Regions from separate parts of the Homo sapiens genome. Here regions 1 and 2 are each linked to region 3. Evidence: promoter capture Hi-C in 16 types of primary human blood cells and fetal thymus (Javierre and others, 2016). All regions are on one chromosome and are shown on one strand. Each heading gives the region's core, a stretch centred on a gene start or on the middle of the fragment in contact. The rest is flanking DNA. Distances are from core to core; before and after follow the strand shown.

The links. Contacts are between HindIII fragments. The CHiCAGO score rates a contact against its expected background, and 5 or more counts as called.
Region 1: a contact is called between a fragment that was not itself captured here and the fragment with the promoter of CASK in region 3, in 1 of 17 cell types (fetal thymus). The highest score is 5.0, in fetal thymus.
Region 2: a contact is called between a fragment that was not itself captured here and the fragment with the promoter of CASK in region 3, in 1 of 17 cell types (monocytes). The highest score is 6.4, in monocytes.

What each region holds. Positions count from the first base shown.
Region 1 is chrX:43,645,394-43,648,906 of GRCh38, forward strand. No RefSeq gene overlaps it. Among named protein-coding and RNA genes, the nearest start is that of MAOA, 9.1 kb to the right of the region's middle. The HindIII fragment of the contact is 9,080 bases long and covers 1-3,513 here.
Region 2 is chrX:43,662,200-43,665,408 of GRCh38, forward strand. All of the region lies in intron 1 of MAOA (monoamine oxidase A), which reads left to right. Among named protein-coding and RNA genes, the nearest start is that of MAOA, 7.5 kb to the left of the region's middle. The HindIII fragment of the contact is 3,060 bases long and covers 1-3,005 here.
Region 3 is chrX:41,921,994-41,925,480 of GRCh38, forward strand. CASK (calcium/calmodulin dependent serine protein kinase) reads right to left here and starts at 1,561. Exons shown (of 27, transcript NM_001367721.1): 1 at 937-1,561. The coding sequence starts at 995. RefSeq lists silencers at 1,016-1,065, 1,336-1,915. The HindIII fragment of the contact is 8,208 bases long and covers 1-3,487 here.

The DNA of each region.
Region 1 (3,513 bases), core at 295-2,794, 1.7 Mb after region 3:
ATGGTGAAATCCTGTCTCTACTAAAAATACAAAAAAATTAGCTGGGTATGGTGGCGGGCACCTGTAATCCCAGCTACATGGGAGGCTGAGGCAGAAGAGTCGCTTGAACCCGGGAGTCGGAGGTTGCAGTAAACCAAGATCGCACCACTGCACTCCAGCCTGGGCGACAGTGCGAGACTCCATCTCAAAAAAAAAAAAAAATTCTCCCCATAACTATAGTACTATTATCACATGTAGTAAAATTAACACTAATCAATAATATCATCTAATATGCAGTCCATATTTAAATTTCCTCCATTGTCACAATGGCTTTCTAATTTTCCAAACCAGAATCCAGCCAAGTTTTACAAATAGTCTTTGATCATGCCTCTTTATTCTCTTAATCTTGCACAGTCCCAATACTTTTTAGTTTTTTTCACATTAACTTTTATTGAAGGATCCAGGCCAGTTGTCTTGTAAAACAGCCTGTATCTGAATTTGTTGGATTGTTCTCTCATGATTGGATTCAAGTTAAGCATTTTTTGGTAAGAATACTGCATAAGTAAGGTTGTGAACTTTTTTTTTTTTTTTGAGACGGAGTTTCACTTTTGTTGCCCAGGCTGGAGTGCGATGGCGCGATCTCAGCTCACCGCAACCTCTGCCTCCCGGGTTCCAGTGATTCTCCTGCCTCAGCCTCCTGAGTAGCTGGGATTATAGGCATGCACCACTACACCCAGCTAATTTTGTATTTTTAGTAGAGACGGGGTTTCTCCATGTTGGTCAGGCTGGTCTTGAACTCCTGACCTCAGGTGATCTGCCCGCCTCGGCCTCCCAAAGTGCTGGGATTACAGGCATGAGCCACCACGCCTGGCCAGTTGTGAACTTATTACATGACATCAAAGGACATATTATATTAGATTATTGATGATTGATTATCTTAAGTTTGATCATTTGGCTTAGGTGGTAACTGCCAGATCTCTTACCTGTAAAGGATTGTTTTTCCCTTTATAATTAATAAAATAATCTGTAGGGTGATACTTGGAGACCTTGTGAATGAACAATTTCCTAATAATCTTTCACTCCTGGTTTTTAGCATCTGCTGAGATGCTTGAATTGATTACTACAAGAGTTCAAAGTGGTCGTTTTTAATAATGCCTTCTACATTTACTACCTGATATTTTTCTGTAAAGAAAAACTTTCCTTTTTAACATCTTTCTCCTTATGTTTTATTAACTTATTTATTTTGGTATAACACAATGGGCTGATGGATTTTCTATTAATGTTTTATTATTGTCATCATTTTTTGATGCTCAAATTGTTCCAACTTCAGGCAACATTACTTATAGCAAAAAAGTGCCTCTGACTGGTAAATAGCATCTGGACTGGTAGACTTCATAAATAAACTCTAAATGCTCAATGCAAATACCATAATTTTGGGCTTCCTTTAGTGTGGTAACTGTTATAATTGGCTATGTCCCATGTGAGGGATCCTAGAAACTATGCCTGTGTAATTATTACAAAAGTTATTGGCTCCTATGGGGCATAAGGCTGCTAAATCAGGCTAAGTTCCACTGTTGTCTGAAGTGAAACTTGTTCCCTTGTACGTAAACTACCACTTGGGAAACTAATGAGAATAGCCGCAGGATAGCTAGTCTGACTGCTCTTTGATCTGCTGTAAGAACACCCATGGAAGGTAAACGCTCCATGCTGTCCTGCTGGCAAGCTGTGGTTTGTTGTATCCCTTTGAGTGTACTGATGCCAAATACAGTCCATGGTAGTTTTGTGAGTCTGAAGGTTTAGTTGGACCCATGAAGAATCCCTAATGGGAGTTGCACTATTTAAAAAAGAATACTCAGAGAAACTTCACTTCCATTCCTACTCCTTCCATCCCATTTTCATTCATTTCTCCATATATGATTTATCCTTCCTATATATTTTTGAAAATATAAGTAATATATCCTTACACAAAGATACAAATAGACATACATACATATAGACATATTCAAAGGTATGCTATATATATATTCTCTCATACCTTCATTTTACTACTTTTTTTTTTTTTTGAGATGGCGTTTCACTCTTGTTGCCCAGGCTGGAGTGCAATGGTGCGATCTCAGCTCACTGCAACCTCCGCCTCCTGGGTTCAAGCGATTCTCCTGCCTCAGCCTCCCTAGTAGCTGGGATTACAGGCATTCACCACCATGTCCGGCTAATTTTGTATTTTTAGTAGAAACAGGGTTTCTCCATGTTGGTCAGGCTGCTCTTGAACTCTCGACCTCAGGTGATCCACCCTCCTCTGCCTCCCAAAGTGCTGGGATTACAGGTGTGAGCCACCGCACCCGGCCTTCATTTTACTACTTGAAAATATATCCAGAAAATCACTCCATATTCCATACCAGTTCACAGAGATCTTCTTTCTTTTCTTTTTTGTAATGACTGAATAGTGTTTCATTGTGTAGACTTATCAGTGTTTATGCAAATGGTCCTCTATAGATGGGCATGTAAATTGTTTTGAATATTTTGCTATTCAAAATAATTCCACAATAGATAACCTTGGGCATATTTTTTCACTGTTTGTGGAAGTGTATTATTAAGGTAAATTCCTAGGAGGATTGCTGGGTCAAGGGGTAAATGCATAGGTATTTTGTTAGATATTACCAAATTCCTCACTATCAGAGGTTGTACCATTTGTACTTGAGCCAGCAATGTATGAGAATGCCATATGTGTCTATAGACCAAGAATAGCATTTTTGGCCCAGGGCAGTGGTTCACACTGTGAAATAGTGAGGAAATCATAAGGAGAAAATGCATTGAGATATACATGGCATAAATGAAAAGTGAGTTGGCTGAAATAAGAACTTAAAGTAAAAAACAAAACAAAACCTAAAATGAAATGACAGTTAAAATCTGCATTAGAAGCAGTACAAATAGAATTAGAACTTCAGAAAATTAAATCAGTAATGTGAAGGATAAATTTGATTAGCTCTCAAAATTCAGAGGAAAAGGACAAAGATGACAACAATGATAAAGGACATAGAAAGGTGATCCAACAAGATAACTATAGGTGTTTCTGAGGAAGAAACCAAATATTTAAAACAGATAAAATAATCCAAGTTATAGTAGAGAAAAACTCCTTGCCCAGGAATGAACAAAAACCCCAAATTAAAAACCCACAGATTGAAAGGATTTATGATACTACACACACGCAAATAGACACACACAGACACACACACAGACTCTTATTATCCTCACAAATTTGTTTAATTTCAGGGATAAATGAAACAATTTCTCAAGAGTATTCTGTAAACGAAGACTTATTTTAAAAGATGTGAGGGCTGCCAAATAGAAATTTTTCAAATTGATGTCTAGGAAATATCATCACAATTAAGTTAACCAGTCATTTCATTGATGAAATGATTTTGAAATTTATTTAAATATATAAGAATATATTAATAAAAGGACTATGTAAGAATATTGCTAAGAATTTGTTAAAAAAACTATTGGGAAGGGACTAATCTTTCTATCTGATAAAAT
Region 2 (3,209 bases), core at 226-2,725, 1.7 Mb after region 3:
TGAGGTTCAATGTGGGCTGAGCATTAATTTTTTGCTGTTTAGGACACTTCTCTGCCCCTAATTTATATTTTATTTTTCTAAAAAATAAACTAGGGTGTTTTTACTTCATAAACTTTTTAAATACTAAACAAAGAATACAAGAATTACATTTATTTGTGTTCTGATTTTTTTTTTTTGAAATCTTCATGGTTGAAGGAGCTTTTGGATTTATCTGGCATTAAATGGGAAATTTTAGCATTTAGTCAATACTAATTGATTTGAATTGTTACATAATCCTCAGCTATTGTGAAAAATGTATTTAACAATAGATCTAGGTATAGCATAATTGCATACATTACAGAGACCAATAATGGAGAAAAAGAAACATGGAACACCATTATTGGTGAATATTGGGTCACAATCTTTGTGCAGTTATGGCATAGAAATATTTTAACCTATGAAAAATCTTGCAGTATTTGCATTCAAGTGTACTCAGAAAGACTAAGGTTGTATTCTAGTTTTATATTACATATAGGGTGCCCAGCCCTGTGATTTAGAAAGTGTAGACACCCGATAAATAGTTGTTAAGGAATATACTTGTATGTAGGAGATGTATAGATTTCATAATGATAGGGTTTTTTTTTTCATTGTAATTAGAACTTCAAAAATTGAATCAAAACATTTTCTAAATGTTGTGAGCATTTGAGACAAATTGATTGTTGGGACTGTTTCTCCTCCTTTATCATGACAAATATTTTATATTTTTACCAGCAATTTGTATTTTCCTTCAAACAATCTATTTCTTGTTATGTTGCCATCTGTCATTGTGTATTAGGGAAATTTAAAGTCTTTGAACTATGGTTTTGTCATCCAAGAAGTTGGATTAAGTTATATGTGATATATCTTCTGGTATGGATTTTTAGTAATTAGTCAATTTCATGAAGATCCGTCTCTTTAGCTTTCTTTCTTGGACCCTCCTCAACGTTTTTTTCTTCTATGCTTTATTCTGGGAAGAGTTTGCATTATCTGTCATACTGACATTCTTCACAAACTTGAATCAGGGCCTGGGTCTCTCCACAGGTGCTCATTCACACTTTCCCCATGGCTTCTCTGAGACTTTGTTTAAAACCCTTTTCTAGTTGTTGCTAGGCAAAAGTAAACAAAGCACACTCAATAACAATATTTAATTGATTGACTAAGAGTGTTAAGAACATAAAAAACAGATGATAAGATTTAAGAGTTGAAGTAATTATATATTAACCATGTCCAAGGGTTATAGAATGGTGGCCTGTAAGAGCCCAAAGGGACTGAAACAGAGGCTCAGAGGGGTCCAGGGAATTACCAAATGCCACAAAATTCTTAGCTGTTTAACTTGTCCTTGGATGCGTAAAATACTGACTTCCAGGACAGTGCTCTTTCTGTACCTCACCTCACTGGACCTGCTTTGTCAGCTCATCCATAGATCTGCAGTAAACCTTATTATTGCTTTACTTTGAACGTTGATGCTCTAAAGCATAGTGACTACTGCTTAACAGTAATTTATATATTATAAGATATCACAAGGAATGTTATTGCTTTCTGAACATTTAAATTTAAAAATATGGGACACCCTATTAAATAAAATGACTTTCATATGACAAATCTATTTCCTTGTTGGAAAGGCCATTCCTGGTGCATTTAGGATATGTAGAGATTGTTGGGATAGTTTAGATCAGTGATTCTTGACCTTTTGGACCAAATGTCTCTTGGAAAATCTGATGAAAGCTATTGGACGTTTCACCAAAAAATGCGTATTTTTACGCATAGATGTTTTTCTCCTCTGCACCAGGCCAATGTTCTGGAAACCTCTTCTGCGTCACTGTCCTAATAGTGTAATTATTTTTAGCTGATACTGAGACTTCACGAAAGTGGTGAAAAATATTTCAGAGGATTCATTATATCATTAGACAGTTACTAGTAATGAATTTTTAAATAGACCATGATGAAGAGTCAAAACATTCAGGCTGGACACGAAGGCACCTACATTTGCTATATTAGCTCTATGATAACTAGAGAAGTGAAATTGACATGTTTTGAAAAGAAAGAATTTGGGAGAAAACATTGGTGAAGGAAATGGAAGGCTGTGGTGGTTGAGATTTCTTTTAGTAGTTTTCAAAGATTGTTTATTTAAAGTATCATTAGCCCATCGTCTATTCAGTGACTTGTGTGAGGCATAGAATCTGTGTAACCTCTGTGTCACAGGGGTTACAGAGATGAGCCTGAAATGCTCTTCAAAGTTGGTTCAGAGGTCCAATGTCAGCACAGAGGAGGGAGGAGTTAATTCCACCTGGAGGAAGTGACAAGGAAAGGATTTCATGGAGGAAGTCATACTCGACAGAAGTGTCATAGATTTTGGATAAATTCTGAAATGTAATGAAGATGACCTTTAAGGTGACCGTTTCCAGATTAAATGAGTTAGCTTGGAGCTGTGGCCTAAGTTGAAGACCATTTTCTTGCTTGTATGTATCTGTTCATTCATTCAGTAAATATTTGTCAATTGTGCATCACTGTATGCCTTGAGTAAAATTTGTGGGGTTTGCTCTCGCTTCTCTGCTTTGGGCATATTGCCTCAAAAATAAAATGCCTCTTCGAAAATCTGATGAAATCTGATTGCCTCAAAAATGAGGCAATATGAGTTGATATTTGACTATACTTTTTATTGCCCTTGGAGTGTTCAGTCCAAGAGTCCAAATGTGCAGTTATGTAAGAATTCTTTTGGCCAGAGACCACTTCACTGAATAATAGAGAATTAACAATGTATCATGCAGTGTACTCTGTGCAATTCCTAGGTGATGATGCATATCAAAGTTGAAGAAAGATGTCACTTTCGGGAATAAAGAGAAAGAACTAGGCAGGTATACACCATAGCTACACTAAAACCTTGCTCCAACATGCTCAGCTTGTGCTCTGGGCATTGTTCACCTAGGACCTTGCCTTTGGGAGTTTATTATGCTATTTGAACAATCAATCTTATGAGAGATTAAACAAGCTTTCCTAAAGTGTGTTTTCAGGTATACATTTTTTTAAAAAGCAGAGGGTGGATAAATGCTGAGTTAAATGGGTCTTTTTGCTGCAGGACTTCTCAGGACCATATGCCAGTGTGCACCAGGCATTTCCCAGAAGGAGAAACAGTATATGGTGTCTCAACTTCCATGAACATTGATACTTCTCCCCAGAGCATCTTTCTTGAG
Region 3 (3,487 bases), core at 311-2,810:
TGTTAGGAAATCAACTTCAGATTGCCAGCATTTCCTTCACAAGCAAATTAGCAGGATTGTGCACTTGGAGTACTGTTTGACAAGAATGAAAAGGAAACTATTCAAAATAGATTTAAGGAATGGACAATTAGATGAGGAACTGCAGATTTAATTCTCAATCAGCACTGTGATTAATCTGATTCCCTGCTTTTCCCCAGCGTAATTATACAACACAGATGAAAGGATGAGCATTTGGACTGTCAGTTCTATATTCTAGACCAGCCCGGTGACTCAAAGCAGACGGCTCTACCACGCTAACCACCATCCCAACAACAGTCGAGGGGAGTCTCGAGCACTGATTGAACAGTCATTGCATAACAAGGCATTAAAAATTCGAATGCCCCCAACTCTTTCCACGTTCGTGTACACCAGGAGGGAATTTGCTGAAACTGAAAGCACCCCGTCTTAAATGACCCCCTCCAATCCGAGCATGGGGTGTACACAAAGGCATCTGTCTAATATCCCGCACAATAGACACACACCCCACAATTAAAACCCTGGACTCTCTCACCACACAAGCAAAGGAAATGCAAGCTGCTCTGTTTCAAAAATGGTCTATGGTACATGCAAGGTAACAATAACCCCAACTGAAGCAACTATAAAATCGGCTGTGCCACGTCCCTGTGCAACCGTCAGATAAAATGCAGGCAGCCGGCCCCACGCCTTACGGGGTGGCCAACCTCGGCTCGGTGGCCTCAATGGACCGCTGAGAACCCCCAGGCCCCCGCCTGGCAGGAGCTCCAGGTACACGTCTATAAATACTCCAGGATGAGAAGGACGAGAGGGGAAGAGGGGAAGGAGGGAGGGCAGGGGGCAGGCCCCGAGCGGGTGCGGGAAGACCGGGGCATCACTGAAATGCATTTTTCCACACTCCCGCTCCCTCGCGTGGAGACTCACTTTCCGATCACCTCGCACAGCTCGTACACATCCTCGAACAGCACGTCGTCGTCGGCCATGGTCCGGAGGGGATAGCGGCCGCAGCGTGGAGGGCTTCGAAAACGGGGGTGGGGGCGCCCAAGAGCTCAGTGCCCAGCCCCGGGATCGCCTCCTCCCCTCAGGACCCGCGAGCCCTCGGTGCCGAGGACGCTCGAGTGGGGCCGCGAGGCCCAGAGACTGCGGCGCCTTCCTCTGCAGGCGACCGCCCCGGCGCGGGCGGCGGGGCCGGGGCGCGGGAGCGAGGGCGGCCCGGGCCCGGCGCCGCCCGCCCGCCCGCTGCTTCTCGCGCTGCTCGGGCCGCGCTGCCCGGCGTGCGGATCCTCGGGGACCGCGCGGCGTCGCGCTCTCCGCTCGTCAGCCCGCGCGGGCCGCGAGGCCGCGACCGCTCCCTCTGTCCGAGGCCGGCTCCGTCGCGTCGCGGAGCAGCTCGGGCTACAGAGGGGGCCGCGGCAGGACCATGGAGCGAGGATCGCCGCGGAGGGAGGTGGCGGCGGCGGCGGATCGGCGCTGGGGACCAGGAGGCGGCGGCAGAGACGCTCCCTCCTCTTTCTCCTCCTCCCGCAGCCGCCACCGCCCGCCCGGGAGTGGGAGGGGGCTTCGCGGGACCGGCGCTCTGTGCGGGCGGGAGCCGCGGCCGCCGCCTTCTGCTCCGCCCCTACGCCTCAGCAGCCGACCGGCTCGCCAGCCCCGCTCACCCGCCTCGCGCAGACACGCCCTCCTCCCCCGTCGGCGGCGCGGCTTCCAGAACCACAGGCTCCGCCCACTCCAACCGGTCGGGAGGCGGTGGCCCAGGGAAAGGGGAGCGGGCCGAGCGGCGCATGCGCGGGGCGCCGGCCGCGTCACGGCGAACGGGCGGGCACCGGGATTCTAGAGGGCGCGGGGGGTTGAGTGGGGCGCGCCGGCTGCAGCTGCCGAGGCGGGGCTGGTTGGGGTCGTCGCCTCCGCGCCTAGCCGCGACCAAGCCGCGAAAGGGGCTGGAGACAAAAGGTCCACGGCTGCACGCTCGTTGTCCGGCAAGAGGCACGAAACTCTGGCCGCTCCCCTTTCCTTCTTTTGTAATCGCAGGGAGCCTTTCCCAGTTTTTTGCTGGGAAAAGAGGCAGGGAAAGGGTGCTAATGAATGAGAAAGCTAAAAGAGAGGTGGAGAGAGGTTGTCACTGAATCCGTGCTTGGCAGCGGATGCTTTTAGTGCTACCCTGTCATTCCTTAATGAAGATGAGGGCTGGGGGTAAGGGGAGGTCGTCCAAGAAAAGGACTAAACAAAAACTGCCTAGGAAGGTGTGCGACAGCAAACGGTCATCTATAGAGACAGCTTCTCCCACGTTCTGCCCCAAACTCAACAAATATCTATCCAGCGCCTACCCTCACTAGAGACCAACCTAGAGAGAAGCTAGGAAGGCAGGGACAAACCGTGACTTTAAGCTCATTTGTATATTGTCCTCAAACTCCCAGGACCTACTCTGCTCTCTATACTCCCTATAAATGTTAGACTTGTCAGGAACAGAATGCAACTAGAGGGAGTGCAGGCACAGGAGCAGCCAGGGAGTGAGGTTCTGGGTGTTGCCGCTGTGCTAGGTTGCATTCAATATGAAGATTTCTGTTCAACTGAGCATGTGCGGAATGAGCCAGCGCCATCAGACAGGTATATGCCTCAGTTGAAGACCAATAGTGTCTTTGTTCCTCCGCACAGCAAAAGTGCCCAATTAGTTCATAAGTCAGTTTCCAGAAATCGTCTGGTAAATTTCTCAGTGCAGTATTTTTTTTAAAAAAAGTATTTATTAATACCAAAGTGGAGGGGGTGATGTGGAGACTCACAGCCTATTTTCTCTTCAGAAACGTTTCGTGCAAACCCTTGACCACTCCCTCAAAAGGCTGAGAGATTTGCCTGCTAAGGATTTGGGTACTAAACCTTTTTTTTTTTTTTAAATGCAGATCAGAGGACAAGTGTAATTGCACACGGTTTTCCTCCTTTCTCAAAGAGCTTGTGCATTCTCTAGAGACGGGGGCTTCAGAACTTGAGAAACATTGCCTCCTTTAAGGGTCCAAGAGTTACTCACCACAAGTTGGCATGTCCAGCTCATGTCTAATGAATAAGGCGTCACTCCATTCTGCCCTGAAGTGCACAGGGACCCTCTCAAGTCACCTTGTCAGCTTCACTTCTTTTCCCCAGCCCAAGACTGAGCTATACCAAGCCTTGTCGACTTCATTTTGGGGTTTGTTGTCTTCTACAGGGACCTATGCTCAGAGGTAGAAAAGGACAATCATAAAGTAAAACAGAAAAGAAAGTGCAGGTGAAAAAAAGAGAGACAGACGATTGCAAAAATAAGTAAGTGCTCTGCTCATAGGATCACAGTTGGTTTGGATCTGGAAAGAGACTCCCTCACTTACAGATGGAAGAATGTGGTGGTTGCTCTCCCAAAAGCCATCCCACCCCTCTCCCCCACCATGGGGTAGCAGCTCTGGACTTGAGGTGAGATTGTAACCATCTTTACTGGAGAGGTGGGCTCTGATTA